5 separate regions of the Homo sapiens genome follow, and all the other regions are linked to region 1. The links are contacts of gene promoters, found by promoter capture Hi-C in human tissues and cell types (Jung and others, 2019). All regions are on one chromosome and are shown on one strand. Each heading gives the region's core, a stretch centred on a gene start or on the middle of the fragment in contact. The rest is flanking DNA. Distances are from core to core; before and after follow the strand shown.

Region 1 (3,080 bases), core at 444-2,943:
AGCCCCACACAACTCAAAAAACCAGTTCTCAGAACCACTTGCCCTGTTCTGCTTCCAATGTAGACATCTAAAGGAAGCATTGCCCAGAAAACCCAATCCGTAATTTTAATAAGCATAATTTACGGAAGAGTCAACTACTGTGTGATTTCTCCTCTGACTGTCATGGGAATCCCTTCCTTTCCTTGCCCCCTTTCAAATACAGCATCTACCAAGATGACCCCAAGGAAAGTACTTTCCTCTAGAAACAACCAGAATTGATATTGCAGGGAAAGGAACGGGCTTCTCCTCTTATCCCACTCGCAACTCCTCCCCTTCTTCCCCAAGGAACTCTTCTCGCCTCCCAAAATCTGCCTCAACAATGGCCCAAGATTCCATTTAACCACGTCCTCTCCTTTGGGGCAGAAATCTCTGGGAGTAGGGGCAAGGTAGTTTAACCACGAACGGGGTGGGGACTAAACAACCCTAGCACCTCTAAGGTGCCCCCAGGAGGTCTTGCCAAGGAGTCTTCCACAGGGAGAGTCATCCTGCCCGTTGTTCTGGATCTTGAAACTTGGGAGACCCACACCAAAGGAGGGAACCGGTTCCTTTACCCTTTAAGCGCGTCGTGTCCTCCACCGCCTCTTCTCTTGGCCCGACTGGCTCTGGTTTCCTTCACGTTCCCAGCCTCCAAATTGGCGTCCGCCCCATGGCTCGTGTAGGACGCTAAAAGCACGGTAAATCCCAGGGCGATCTCCAGCAGACGCCCTCGACGCATGATGCCGAGCCGCCACCGGCTCCCGCCGCCTCTTGCCGCGCCCGGGGCTCGGTCTGCGGCCGCCGCTGCGCCCTGAAGCGCACCGCGCCGCCGGGGTCCCGCTATCCCGCCGCCCGTCCCCCGGGCCGGGCTCCTCCCGCCTTCTCCAGGCGCTGCTCCCACTTCAGGCGGCCCCTGCCAGCTGCAACACAGAGACAAATCCCCGAGGCGGGGAGACTTTCAGGGCATCGGGATGCTGAAGCCTCGCGGTCCCCATTCCCAAGCCCAACCCGTGCGCCGCCTGCGCGTGGCGCAGTTAATTTGGGTAAGGGAAGACCGTTTGGTCCACAGCTGGCTGGAAAGCCCAGGCCCCCGGCGGCAGCAGCCCCGGCCGATCCCTCGGCCTCCCGGGCCCCGCCAGAAGAGCGCGGCGCAAAGTACCCATATCCCCAGCGGTCCTAAGCCCCGGGCGAGCTCTCTGGGTTTATTTTTTTTAGCGGCACGAATTGCGCGCGATGCGCGCTCTGAACGCCCCACTCCTCAGCCTGCCCTCTCCGCCAGGCTGGAAGCCAGCCGCGCCGTCCCCGCCGACTCCGGGCGATGCCACCGCCCCCCGAACATCTGACGCGGAGCCCGGCACCAAGAGCCCCGGGCCAGGAAGCTGTCAGGCAGGGGAGGGCCAGCGCCAGCTGTGGACGTTCCGGGACAGCCCCTCACCCCAGTCCCTGTCCCTGCCCTCGGCGCGGCGCAAACGCAAAAGCCTCCGTGGCCGCAGCTCCAGCCCCGGTGGCCGCCCGACCCCCGTCGGGACCCCGGCTGCACCCACTGGAGAAGCGGCGGCTCCGACTCCCGAGGAGGCGGCGGCGGCTGCTCCCAGTCGTGGCCGCTACAGCCACTGCTCGGCTCCGCTCGCAGCTGTCCCAGCTGTGGCTCCTGTCCGCTTGTGGCACCCACAGTCTCTGCCGCGGCTCCCGCAGCCCCCTCCTTTCCCCACCTCTTCAAGTATCGTCCGCGCAGCGGTTTCTCGCGAGAGAAATACTTTTTTTAAAAAAAGAAAGAAAAAGAAAATGACACCCCCTCCTTCGTCGCCCTCATCACCACCCCACCCCCCGGCCCCATCCATCCTCCCTTTCCACTCCCCTTTGCCAGCCTCCGCCTCGGTGCGGGGCCTCTCGCTCGCAGGATTAGCGCAGTGGGAGGAGGCAGAGGTGATCAGGTCCTGCCCGGCCTGGGACTTTTTGTCTTGAGGTGGGGAGGGGAGAAATGGGAAGAGGTGGAGTAGCGGTTTTAGCCCGCTCTGCGGCTGCGAGGTTTAGATCCGAGATTAACCTCTCCCGCGATAGGTGAAGCCCTACCGGAGCAGAAAGCTGTTCCACCTGCACCAAGAATGCGCGCTGGAGACGGTTGCCCCGGAGGCCCTGGCCCGAGAGAAAACCAGTCCCCGCTGCCCGCGCCTCCCGGTAGCGCGCTCCCTGCGCCTCTCCCGCCGGACACTCAGCAGACGCCGGAGGCCGGGAGGCTAAGACTGGGCGCGTCGCAGGCCGGGACCGCGGCAGAGGCTGCTGTGCCGACCGAGGAGAGGGCTCTGCCGCCCCCACTTGCCCTGGGTGTCGAGAGCCCACTCCAGACGCGGCTCTTCTGAGGCTCAATTCAAGCCACCCAGGCCTGAATCCAGGGTGCTCTCTCTAAGTCGGTGTCCAACCCAGGGGCCTGTAAATGTTGGAACCTAGGATGTAGGATGGGAGCGGTGAAGGGATGGTCCTCTTGCCCAGCCCAGATTAAGACTGGGGTTCATCTGGAGGACTCTACTTACACCCTCCCGGTCCCCTCGCCCTCCCCCACACACAGCTGCCTCTCCCCAGGATATGCGCGGCACAGTGAATTTAGTGGCTTTGAAAGGTATAGTATTTGTGGCATCCTTATATGGATAATGCCCAATGATGCCTGCACCCTGTAACAGTTTAGGAAGGCCTGAAGTCGCACACTGGGTCCTGGCTGCTGTAACTGGAGACCCCCAGAAGATCCCCTGCAAGCAGCCACCAGCCTGCTGTCAAGCCAATAATAAAAGCTCAGCACAAACAGGTACCCTGGGAATGTATCTTGTTGAAAGGGATTTTCCTTATTTGTAACCGTTTGTAAAGGGGCCCAGACAGTAGGGTAGAGAGACCTGGGCAAGTTATTCAACTTCTTTCCAAATACAAGATGGGACTTGTAGTGTCCACCACACAGGGTTGTAATGGTGATGATGGACATGCTGAACTGCTGTGATACATGAAGATGAAACAGAAAAACTGTGGGAACTATGAGCTGATCTAAAGCCATAGTCCTGTAAGTATGTATGTGGTGT
Region 2 (2,898 bases), core at 229-2,728, 130 kb after region 1:
CCATTGAGTCCAGAGAGAGTGGACCAACATAGCTTTAATGTGCTGAAATAGAAGAACAATTGGTCAGGAATTGTATAATAAACAAATATAAGGATATTTTCATAAAAGGAAACAGACTCTGTCAGCAGCAGACATGCTTGAGAAGAAATGGTAAAGAAAATTCACAGAAGATCATATTATACGATTCTATTTATATGAAATGCACAGAGCTGTCAAATCCATAGAGACAGGAAGTAGATTAGTAGATTAGTTGTCTGGAGCTGTGGAGGCAGGAAGAGGTAATGGGAATGACTGGTAATAGGCATGGAGTTTCTTTGGGGGGATGTTGAAATGCTGTAAAATTAGGTGTGGTGATGACTGCACAGTTCTGTGAATATACGGAAAACCACTGAGCTGTATTCTTTAAGTGGGTGTCTTTTATGGTATGTGAAATAATATCTCAATAAAACAGTAAAAAAAAAAAGAAAAGAAAACCCAAACACCTAACGTATGAGTTTCCTTCATATGAAGGCAAATCTAATAATCTGTAGTGCTTAGGTGTGAATAACTGGGTATTAAAAAGCTAAGGGAAAAAAAAAACAGAAAATGATTGCCCTAATAGATAAGATAGTAGTTAGCCTCAAGGTTACAATAAGAAAGAATATGGGCAGCTCGTGGCAATATTTACTTCTTGACCTGGGTGGTGGTCCTACGAATATTCACTTTCAAATAATTCATTAAGCTATATATTTATGTTCCATGTTTTTTATATGGTATATTTCATAATTTGAAAGATTTAAAAAGCAAAATAAAACTATAGAAAGTACTAGAGAAATACCTTATTTTTAAATATCAAGAAACCATAAATGAAAACAGTGACAGATCTAACTATATAAAAATTATAAACAGGAAAAGTGATAACTCTCAATACTGGCTAGGTTACCAAGAAATAGGGACAGCCTCAGGACGTGGGTAATAATGTAAACTTTAGGGCTGTTTAGTAATATGCATCAAAGCCCTCAAATAAGTGCACACCCTCTAGCAAGACAATTATTCTACTTCTTTAGGAAGTAATCAAAGATGTGAATAAAGACTTGACTACAAGGATGCTTATAACAATGATATTGCATTATTTATAAGTAAAACTTTTAAACAGCGATTTAGTAGCTAAACTGGTTCATTCATCTACATAGTCACTAAAAGTAATCTATAAAAATATTCACTAATATTCAAAGATTTCAGAATATACTAGTAAAATGACATTATAAAGAAATATTATCAATATTATTTTATCTTTTAGAAACATACAAAACAGGTGATGTGGAAGTTTTATACTGAAATATAAAAGTGGTTTTCTTCATGGGAAGTAAGGTGAGATTATTGGTGACTTCTATTTTCTTCTTTTTTAGTCTGTATTTTCTAATTTTTTCATAATGGAGGATTAAGTTACTTTTGAAAAGAAATAAACAGTTGACAGTATCTGCCCTTAAGATGAGGTGATGAAAGTCTCTGTGGTCTTTCTCCACAAAACCCATGAGAAAAACGTAATCATAAGAAAAACGTCATATTCCAATAGACAAGCTTCCTACAAAATACTTGGCCAGTATTCCTTACGACTGTCAAGGTCATCAAAAACAAGTAAAGTCAAGAGAAATCTAAGGAAACATGACCCCTAAATGTAATGGGGTAGCCTGGTTGGGATCCCAGAACAGAAAAAGTATGTTAAATAAAAACCAAGGGCATGTAAATAAACCCTGGATGTTAATTAATAATAATATACCAATATTGGCTCATTAATTGTAACAAATGTACCATACTAACATAAGGTATTAGTAGGGAAAAATGGGTGCAGCATATCGTATATAGGAACTCTGCGTAATACAAATTTTTCTGTAAATTAAAAACTGTTCCAAAAATATATTTTTAAAAAACCTTTATTAGAAACAAAAATACTACCTGAGTTAAAATGTTTACTGTTCTTCAGTTTTAGATGATTCCAAATAAAATCTTAGAATATTGTGTGTGTGTGTGTGTGTGTGTGTGTGTGTCTGTGTGTATGGGTGTGCGAGACAGAGAAAATGAACAAACTATTAGGTAGGCTTTTTAATGTTATAAAAGGAGCTTTTGCAATACAAAATGCAAATTTGTATATGTAATATATATATATATTTTGTAAGTAGTCTGTCTATATACATAGATCTCATTTAAACCACTTCTATTTCCATTGAAGTAGAAAATATAAATTACAAGAAATATAAAATATTTTACAATATAACTTCCTGTGCCATAAGACATGGTGAACTAACCTTAAGCAGAATGATTATTTTGCTCGGTTAACAAATTATGCATCCCCAATTTCTTTTCTTACTGAATGCTGACCACTGAAATAGCACATCCTGTACTCCTAGAGGGAGCCAAGTCAGAGAGAGAAAGTGCTTGCTAAAATAATTTTCTCTTCTTTCCTCAAAGGGGAAAAAAATCAGTGGTAGTGACCAATCCTGAAAAAGGCTCACTACTGAGTCCCATGGAAGTCAGTTCTCCTAAATCCAAATAAACTGTAGTCCCTTATGAAGCCTGCTGAGAAGACCAAAGGGAAAAGGCATTCCACTTGTTAAATGTTTATTATTTGAGCTTAGCAGCCAACTATAATAAGGGAGAGAGGAAGCTGTCTGCAAGCTGCATGCAGATTTAGCTACTCAAATTCCATGAATGTAAAATAGAACATTGAGGCTAAACCCTTAAAATTTACTAGGCAGTAGCTTGAGGGAGGAGGTAGTTGGTAATAAAAGCTTGTAGCCACCAATATTTGAGTCAGTGATTTGAAAGCAGCCCAAGTCAACAAAGAACTAAAATTCCCAACACATGAAAATTATTGCTTCCCCTTATTCTAGGAATCACAGTAGACCAGGGGAAAGAGAC
Region 3 (2,835 bases), core at 169-2,668, 160 kb before region 1:
GCAAATAATGTGTCTATTCAGACTTCTAGGGCCCAGCACACTGCCTGACACATAGTGAATATTTAACCACTACTTGCTGAGTGAATAGATAATATATTCTAAACCACTAGTATCTATATTTAAAGCACATAGAACATTATTAGAATATATTATCCTACAGCTATCAATTGACTGTGTAGCAGAATGAGATATTCACTTAATACTGTTTGGTGCTTTTTTGGATATGCCAAAAATATAAAAATTTCAAAGATATAATTTATAATTTAAATTATTTGCAAATAATTTGTACAATTTAAAAATATTTTCTTAATGTATATACCTTAAGATGTCTTTCTTTCTTTTTTTGAGACAGGATCTGCTCTGTCATCAAGGCTGGAGTACAGTGGTGTGCTTGGCTCACTGCAACCTCTGCCTCCCAGATTCAAGCAATTCTTGTGCCTCAGCCATCTGAGTAGCTGGGATTACAGGTGTGCACCACCATGCCTAGATATTTTTTTTTTTTTTTTTTTTTTTTTTTTTGTAGACACAGGGTTTCACCATGTTGCCCAGGCTGGTCTTGAACTCCTGGACTCAAGTAATCTGCCCACCTTGGCCTCTCAAAGTGCTGGGATTATAGGCATGAGCCACCGCATCCAGCTCAAGATCTCATTAATATAATTTAAAGAGCTTCTTGTACACTAGAAAACTGCATACATGTAACATGTGACCTGAGTTTCCCACTACAGGGCCTTTTTCCAAAACAAGACCAAACACTCAAGAAATACGCAAGTAATTTCTACATGTAAGACAGAACTGGGAGATTAAATCTCCAGAACACCAAGTCCTTCTTCAGCAATGAATTACCATAGCTTTTGGAAGCAAAATTAAAGTTCCTTTGAGTTTACGTAACTGACATTTAAGAGGGCCACCTAGAAACTATCTGAAACTATCTCTCCATACAGAACAATTTTAACCCCCAGGACTTCTTGGACCAAACAGTTAAAAACAAAAAGTTCATACTTTTCTAAACAAAGATAATTATATAATTCAGAAAGCAAAAAGTCCATGCTGGGATGATCAAGTAGAGTGCTGAGATCATGAAAATGCATCCTATTTGTCTAAAAAGGGAGGCAATTGGCCATGGAAAACGTAACATTGTACCTTTGAAGAAAGGCTTTCCATTTGTAATTTCTTTTGTGGCAAATCCGGGTCCTCTCGGACACAGCTCCTCGTACTCAGGAGTATTTCTCATGGGACACTCCTCGCATTCCTCAGTACCCCAGGCTGCCCCGACGGAGCAGCAGCAGGCGTCCATGCGGTGGCGGCCAGCAATAGGCAGGGTGCACTCCTCGTCCTCGTACCTCAGGAAGCAGGTTTCCAGGCGGATATCTGTCAGAGGGAATCAAGGGAGGTTAAATAGAGCCACACGGCTTCCACTGCCCCAAACTGCCAACACTCTGTTAGGTAAAATACTGCACACATAATAATTTGCTGTATACTTATTGACTGGAATTAGTTTTATTCCTCAAAAAAAACCCCAGGCTCTGGGGTAAGTATCCTTGCCTAATAAAGACTCTCTTTGTCAGCCCATGTTTGCACCTCCTACTTCTGAAAAGTTCCCTTTCAACATCTGATAATTCTACATAAGGAATGGTATTCTGAGAGATCCCACAGTGTTCTTTCGGGAGATGTTTTTCTCCTGTACAGAAATACCTATCACCGATGCGTGCATGCCATGATGTCTTGGCATGTCCTCCACAGCTAAAAGCCAACTGTACTCTTTATTGTTGGAGCGTGTCTGCCCTAGTGCAATCACCTTTTCCTCCGACCCACTTCATTTTTGGAAAGGTGGAATGATGAACTCTGGAAAGAGGACTGCTTTACTTGAGATTAAAGAGAAAAATGCAAAGAAAAGCCATTCACTTTACTTCTCAAATATTTCTTTCACCTAAACACGTGCTTAAGGGCACATTCTTCAAGGTACTTGTGGGATACCTCTAGCCCCAAACCCAAATTCATGGGATTATAAAGAAGAGCAGAAAGCCTAGCAGAGCAGAGGTCAGAAGAGCTGGATTTTGGTCCTCTTCTGTAACTCAGTGGATTGTCTTCAATAAATTATCCTAAACCTGAATTTCCACATCTGTTACAGGATGTTGCACTCATCTCTCAGAAGGTTCTGTGAAGCTCAACTGAGATTATGCATCTGAAAATAATGAAGTGTAATTGAAATGTAAGATGTATCTTCCTTCTCTTTCTCCTTCACAATGGGGTCATTAACAATATATCTAACTCCCTGGGTTTCCTCTAACGTTAGAAAGTTTTTGAAGTCTTTATATTCAGCTTTATATTCAGACTGCCCATATTAAGATAAATTATTTTTAAGTGAATCCTAAATTAAACACTGAAGCATCTTTCAACTGAAGAACCTAGAAGAAGATTCTCATTAAATACTGATTCTTCCTAAACAAATAAACTAAGACTCAGAATAGCATTAACTGACATCCTTAATTACAAAAATACTTTTGGCTTTGAATTCCCGGTTCCATTCCATATTATTTATTTACACTATAAACTATAAAGTTCAATATTTAAAGGTTTGTTAATTCTAATTCGTAAGTGATCAAAATCCTTCACTGTATACCACTTTCTTTTTCTTTTTCTTTTCTTTTTTTTTTTTTAGAGACGGAGTCTCACTCTTTTGCCTAGGCCGGACTGCAGTGGCACTATCTCGGCTCACTGCAAGCTCCAACTCCCGGGTTCATGCCATTCTCCTGCCTCAGCCTCCCGAGTAGCTGGGATTACAGGTGCCCGCCACCGTGCCTGGCTACTTTTTTTGTATTTTTAGTAGAAACGGGG
Region 4 (2,819 bases), core at 206-2,705, 240 kb after region 1:
TATAAAGCCACTGTGATCTATAAATCAAGAAAATCCATTGTCATAACCATTTTTAAAAGTCAAAAATTAAGACATCCTTAATTAAAAAGTTTCAAATCTAGACACTAAATGTGTGTGAATGTACAAAGAAAACAAACCATTGCTTATGCTGTTATATACTAGAGAAATTTTGTTTTGCTTGCTGTTTTAACTTGACAGATGAAGGACTTTAGTTGAACTTCATATTGTAAGAACTGTTAATAAAAGTTGTCAAGTAAAAAGCGCTATATCTAAAAAGACTTTATGAACAGTTATTCTATCAACTTTTAAAGGTTTTAAACCTGCCCAGAAATTACCTTGGTATCTGAAGTTTCCCTCTGTCTCCTCCTCTAATTAAGCTTGTTATTTGTCATGCACCAGCATTGGAGATAATAAAATTTCTTGTTCTGTGTATTTTGTTTGGCTAATAGTATTGCATACATACTTTCTCTGTATACTACTTTCTATTGTATGTGTTAACCAGTATTAAGGGAAAATGATCCAGCTTCAGCTATCTAATTCACAAATTAATTTCTGGAAATTAAACTTTGTAAATTAAGTTTTTGCCTATAAGAATTTGCTGGTCTGGGAAAACCTGCCCTATCAATGAGTATGTTGCCGTGGTTACCTTACTAAGATGCTGAAGTTCTAGGAGAGTAATGATTACATCAGAAGGCTAGGTTCAGCAAAATAAGTGTATCAGCAGGTTTTATCATGATCAGTAAAAATGTTCCAAATGCTTCTGCTCCATTATAGCAGTAAAGAACGAATATCCAATGCAACAGGACAATTCAGAGCCTTATTTATTTTATGGTCATCCTGTCTTTTGGGGAGAGAGATCTGTAAAAGATAGGACTGTGACAAGGCTGATCAGAATTGCTCAGACACTAGCTGGGTTAGGAGGGAGAGATGGTGGAAGTAAAATGTTGGTGCTTAGACTTAATCCTACTGCCTCTTCCACTGCTTTCTCAATTAGCGTGCAGCTACGGTCAGATGAGTGTGGATAGGTAATTAATTGCATGGATGATGTAAATTAGTGTGGGTGGGGGTATGCTAGTGCACAATAAACTGGCTGGTTGTATTTACCTCCAGATCTTTATCTTTACCAGGAAAGTTTATCTTTACTAGGAAAGATAAACTCTTGGAAAAAAAAATCTGAGGTCCACAAACTAGAAGGTTGTGATTCTGTTTTTCTCTGGGACTGAGTAGGGCAAAGAGGTGGGGGTGGGAAACACTATTCCATCTGAAGGCCCATCTTGGGGAGAAAAACCTGGGCTCTGCAATTGACTTGGTTGTTTTTCAGTCTTAAAAATAGGCAGTAAGCTGAGAGACAATGAAAATTGTAAATACTTACTTGTATTTATTGAGGATAGAAAACATTTTAACACCCCTTTTAGGGGTGTAAAATTATTTGTGTTTCTTTTACATGCAGTTGCCACAGACAAACCAGACTACTTGGTTAAAATTTGGGTTCTACTATTTATTAGCTCAGTAACTGGGAAATTAATCTCTCTGGCTCATGTCCTAAACTGAAAATAGGAACAATTGGATGTACCTTACAAATTGTGAGGACTAAATGATGATGTGTGTGAGAGTGTGTGTGTGTGTGTGTGTGTGTGTGTGTGTGTGTGTCTTCATTTAAGGAAGCTAGAGAAAGGAGTTCTGGGGAAATTCTGATTTTGCAAGGTAGGGGATTTAAAGAAGATTTTGAGTACACGGTGTGATTAGGGAGAGTTTTCCAAATTTATCCATACATATTATAAATGTTCGCTTAGATCAGATATCCCATGTTGACTGTCTTCAGGCCACAGATCTATTTTGTTTGGTTCATGCTTATAATTTTAAGAGACCAACATCTCAGTACAGAGACAGCAGCTAAAAATCTAGATTCTTACCTTTTTATTATTATTTTTTTAAAGTAAAAGATCTGGGAGCCTTTGACCTATAGACCTATGTAGCCAACAAACAAACAAAAAAACAAAGCAAAAAAAAAAAAAAACCATCTGATTCACCTTTAGATAAGGAAGATTCTGTTTGCCAAGTCCCTCAGTGTTGTCTCCCCAACACAGAGGCCAGGTAGCACTTGACATTTATCATTGGGCCTGCACCATTGTTTTTTCTTGTGCTTGCACAGCTTGCATTACCTACTTGGCCTCTAAATATCTCAAGTTGCCTCTCCTTGTAGAGACTAAAGGATGTCTCAATTTTTGCCTGTTTTACCTTAACTCTATTACCCTTCTGAATTCAGTACCTGTTAGAGTTGTAGAAATCAGTAAAGAATTAGTGGGAGTGTGAGCAACTGAGACTCTGACTTTGCTTGAGGCCCTAAAATACTATATTAAAGTATGTCAATAAAGTCTGTTGCTTGAATTTTAAAACAAGGAAATACCTATAACTTACCCTTGCAAAAATGTATTCCCATCCTGAAATATGGTAATATTTAAAAATTGCAAGCATCGCATGTTTAATATTTTCTGCCTCTGGAGGTTTGTAAAATATTTTCTGGGAATGAATTGTTATATTCTTGATGTTCTCAGTGGCCAAAGATAAATGTGAACTATCCGTTCCATAAATGCTATCATCTATGAATATATCCATAAATTTGAACCTTTGTTTTCAGTCCAAAGCATATCTTAGAAATTAAGTGGGGATGGGGAAGGCATTAGTATTTCTTTGTATTTATTTTAGAACTTCCAGTGGTAGCATTAAGGATTTAATTAATCCTTTTCTTGTGCTGTATCCACAAGGTCTCTCATCTTTGCTGCCTTCATTTCTTAAACATTTTAGTTGCCTTTCTCATG
Region 5 (2,755 bases), core at 59-2,558, 180 kb after region 1:
ACAGGCCACAGCTCCTAAAAGGCAGCCCTTGCACACAGCTCCCTCTCCAGATTCTGTTAGCTGTTCTTTCCCTTTCTCCCTTAATTGGCCCCAAGGCACTGCATTCTCCCTCCTGATTTCCCTAAACTCTGCCCACACCTTTGTAAATAGTCCCTTTAATAAACTCACCTTGAATTATCCAGTTTGATTGAGCCAATGTGTTTCCCTGATACATTTTACAAATGACAGTTTCCAAATCCCAAACATCAGACATATTCTGTCAATTGTCACAAAGCAATAATCATTTATTTTTTAAAGTCGTTTACAGGTATTTATAGGCAAATGGATTTCCACTTTAAGACAGATAAAGAATGTGAGATTAAAATAGCATGCAGACATTCCTTTTATTGTTTCCTTTTGCTTTAACTGTGTCTGTGGTATTTTTAAGTGCTGTATTTAACTACTATACTATTACAGTCAAATACTGATTATCCATGTGTACTGCTGACACCATTTACAGTCATTGCATCTATTTGTATCAGGAACTCTTGCTACCAAGTTAATACTCTGCTCAGCTAGAGTGAGACCACAGCCCTGCTCTGTCTCTGATAAAAGTGGTTAGACTACCCATACATTTCTACTGTCTATACTCATGCTGATCCCCTTTTTAAGGACAAACGATCAAGACCTAAGGTATATGGAAAACTGGTGAAAAATACATTAATTCTAGTTGTGTAAGAGGAAACAAATCCATCTAAAAAATTAATGGCAGTAGAAATAAAAATCATAAGCCTTTACAGTAAAATATTAGAGTGCAGTATGCTTGGTTTCTAATGATTTCTATCCAAAAGAAGTTTTATTTAAAACTTAGCAAATATATCACAATCACAAAGACTAAGTTGTATCTACATAGCCAAAATGAAATGGAGTCAAGGCAATATCCAGATAACTCAAGATTAAAAAAAAAAACAAAAAACATTTTTCTTGGAAAGGCAAGAAAAGGACATAAGTAGTTTTCTGCTACTCAAACCAAATCCACTTTTATCATCATTCCCTATATTCCAAAGTTTCAGTATTTTAGACTGAATGGTTTGGAGTCTAAACTATGTGAATGTTGATCTCAGGTGTGCCATTCATTCTGTGAGTATGGACACAGACTATAGAAGAAAAGCTTAATTTTTTACCTTAACTATACAGACTGGTTATCAATAACGACCTCTAACAAATGAAAAACTTGCTTTTTAGAGACTCATACTATAAGTTAGGACTGAAGTAGTCCTCCAAATTCACCTAGCCCATTTAGCTCATTTTATTGCCAAGGAAACTGGAACCCAAACAGATTCAGCAACTTGCTGAAGGTCACACTGGTAAGACTCAGCGTAATGCTTTTCTGTACACCATGCTTAATCACTCTGTTAGTTTACCAGTTGGTCTACATGTGGAAAATCTTTCCAAGTGCTTCATTCAATATGTTTTTTTTTCCTTCTGCATTTTGTCTGATCATATCTATACGAGGTGCTAAGGATATATGTAGGTGAGAAACTATGATTCAGTGTCAGCCAATCAAGAAGAAATTTTACTATAATTTCAAATAGATTCTGTACTTTTACTAAGAATGAAACCAATTTGAATAGTAAATATGAAGAATACTGGTTTTGTTTGCCCTCTTTTAAATCCATGCACTCATGAGGTTTTTTTTGTTTTTTTTGTTTTTTGTTTTTTGTCTTTTTAGCAGGAAGAGGGGGAGAATATAATGAAATCAGAAATGACTGATAGATTTGGCTTCTTCAGCTTGTCACATGCTGTATTTAGACAGTCTGAATAGCAAACACTGAGAAATGCTAGGCCAGAGGATTTGGGCCCCAATCCTTTTAACCAGCAAATGGGACAGTCCAATGAAACAGACAGCCATGTTAGTGGCTTTTGATTTGATTCCACTGACATACACACAGTTCGAATTCAATGTCATATTTATTTTAACATTGCAGTGAAAAATGCTGCTAAACAGAAAATGTAATAAAGTCAATAAGGCTCAAGAAAATTGCTTATTTTTTGTAGCAAGAAAAGCTTTTTTTTTTGGCAAATGGTTCTATAGTCATAGAACATGAAGATACTTAGAATTAATCTCCCAATATGAAAATGTCCCCCAAATTATCAAGTTGAAAGGCACATACCACTGCCCCAGCAGTTCATTCAAGTTGTCGTTAGCATGTGAAATTTTAGTTGTGCTTTTAGCTTGTTATCAATGCAATATGGCCTTAAAAAGTGACATCCGTGCATACATATAATTTCTTTTAAAATGACCAACCCTCTTCCTCTTTTCTGATTTTCATTTCTGAAGACTAATTTTTGTTAGTTCTTCATTTTATAGAGGACCTGGTCCATGATGGTCTTGGAAAGATGCACTTCACAGTTTGTGCTCTATTTTATCTACAAACAAAGTTTAAATTATCTTTGTGTCCTAATACAAAATGGGGTTTCTTGAAATATCAGTGTGATGGTGCTTCAATACTGTCATTTGTTGGAATGCAAAAGTGCTGGATTATTATCTTTTCTCACTGGTTGTTTAAGGCTTACTTCGCTTCCAGAGGAGATGATTGGCAAACTGTTATCCATATGGTATCTGATAAGGTGGCCGACATTATCAAATACATGATCCTTGGTCCTCACCTTGAAAAAGAAGTACAAATATATTTAGGTTAAATTATAGTAGTTCTCCTGAAAGATATAAATAATAAGGGGGAAAATGCCAGATATATCCCTAAAGTAGATACTT

What was found. The method cuts DNA at HindIII sites, captures the fragments that hold promoters and counts their contacts. A contact is called where the count stands out against the background at its distance.
Region 2: a fragment that was not itself captured here is called in contact with the fragment with the promoter of FBN1 in region 1 in 2 of the 25 tissues and cell types used here (hippocampus and liver).
Region 3: a contact is called between a fragment that was not itself captured here and the fragment with the promoter of FBN1 in region 1, in 5 of the 25 tissues and cell types used here (bladder, hippocampus, lymphoblastoid cells and 2 more).
Region 4: a contact is called between a fragment that was not itself captured here and the fragment with the promoter of FBN1 in region 1, in 1 of the 25 tissues and cell types used here (IMR-90 fibroblasts).
Region 5: a fragment that was not itself captured here is called in contact with the fragment with the promoter of FBN1 in region 1 in 3 of the 25 tissues and cell types used here (IMR-90 fibroblasts, mesenchymal stem cells and mesendoderm cells).

The regions. Positions count from the first base shown.
Region 1 is chr15:48,644,016-48,647,095 of GRCh38, forward strand. FBN1 (fibrillin 1) reads right to left here and starts at 1,694. Exons shown (of 66, transcript NM_000138.5): 1 at 1,560-1,694; 2 at 591-935. The coding sequence starts at 754. It overlaps FBN1-DT (FBN1 divergent transcript), which reads left to right and starts at 1,790. Exons shown (of 2, transcript NR_183872.1): 1 at 1,790-2,815. RefSeq lists silencers at 669-718, 819-948, 1,359-1,538, 1,579-1,658 and enhancers at 1,732-2,256, 1,769-1,858. The HindIII fragment of the contact is 10,434 bases long and covers 1-3,080 here.
Region 2 is chr15:48,775,471-48,778,368 of GRCh38, forward strand. All of the region lies in intron 12 of CEP152 (centrosomal protein 152), which reads right to left. Among named protein-coding and RNA genes, the nearest start is that of CEP152, 34 kb to the right of the region's middle. The HindIII fragment of the contact is 3,954 bases long and covers 1-2,898 here.
Region 3 is chr15:48,488,711-48,491,545 of GRCh38, forward strand. It overlaps FBN1 (fibrillin 1), which reads right to left. Exons shown (of 66, transcript NM_000138.5): 25 at 1,141-1,368. Among named protein-coding and RNA genes, the nearest start is that of FBN1, 160 kb to the right of the region's middle. The HindIII fragment of the contact is 8,940 bases long and covers 1-2,835 here.
Region 4 is chr15:48,879,374-48,882,192 of GRCh38, forward strand. The region is part of intron 4 of SHC4 (SHC adaptor protein 4); the gene reads right to left. EID1 (EP300 interacting inhibitor of differentiation 1) reads left to right here. Exons shown (of 1, transcript NM_014335.3): 1 at 1-800. Among named protein-coding and RNA genes, the nearest start is that of EID1, 2.6 kb to the left of the region's middle. The HindIII fragment of the contact is 4,319 bases long and covers 1-2,819 here.
Region 5 is chr15:48,823,478-48,826,232 of GRCh38, forward strand. It overlaps SHC4 (SHC adaptor protein 4), which reads right to left. Exons shown (of 12, transcript NM_203349.4): 12 at 264-2,649. The coding sequence ends at 2,494. Among named protein-coding and RNA genes, the nearest start is that of CEP152, 14 kb to the left of the region's middle. The HindIII fragment of the contact is 4,959 bases long and covers 1-2,755 here.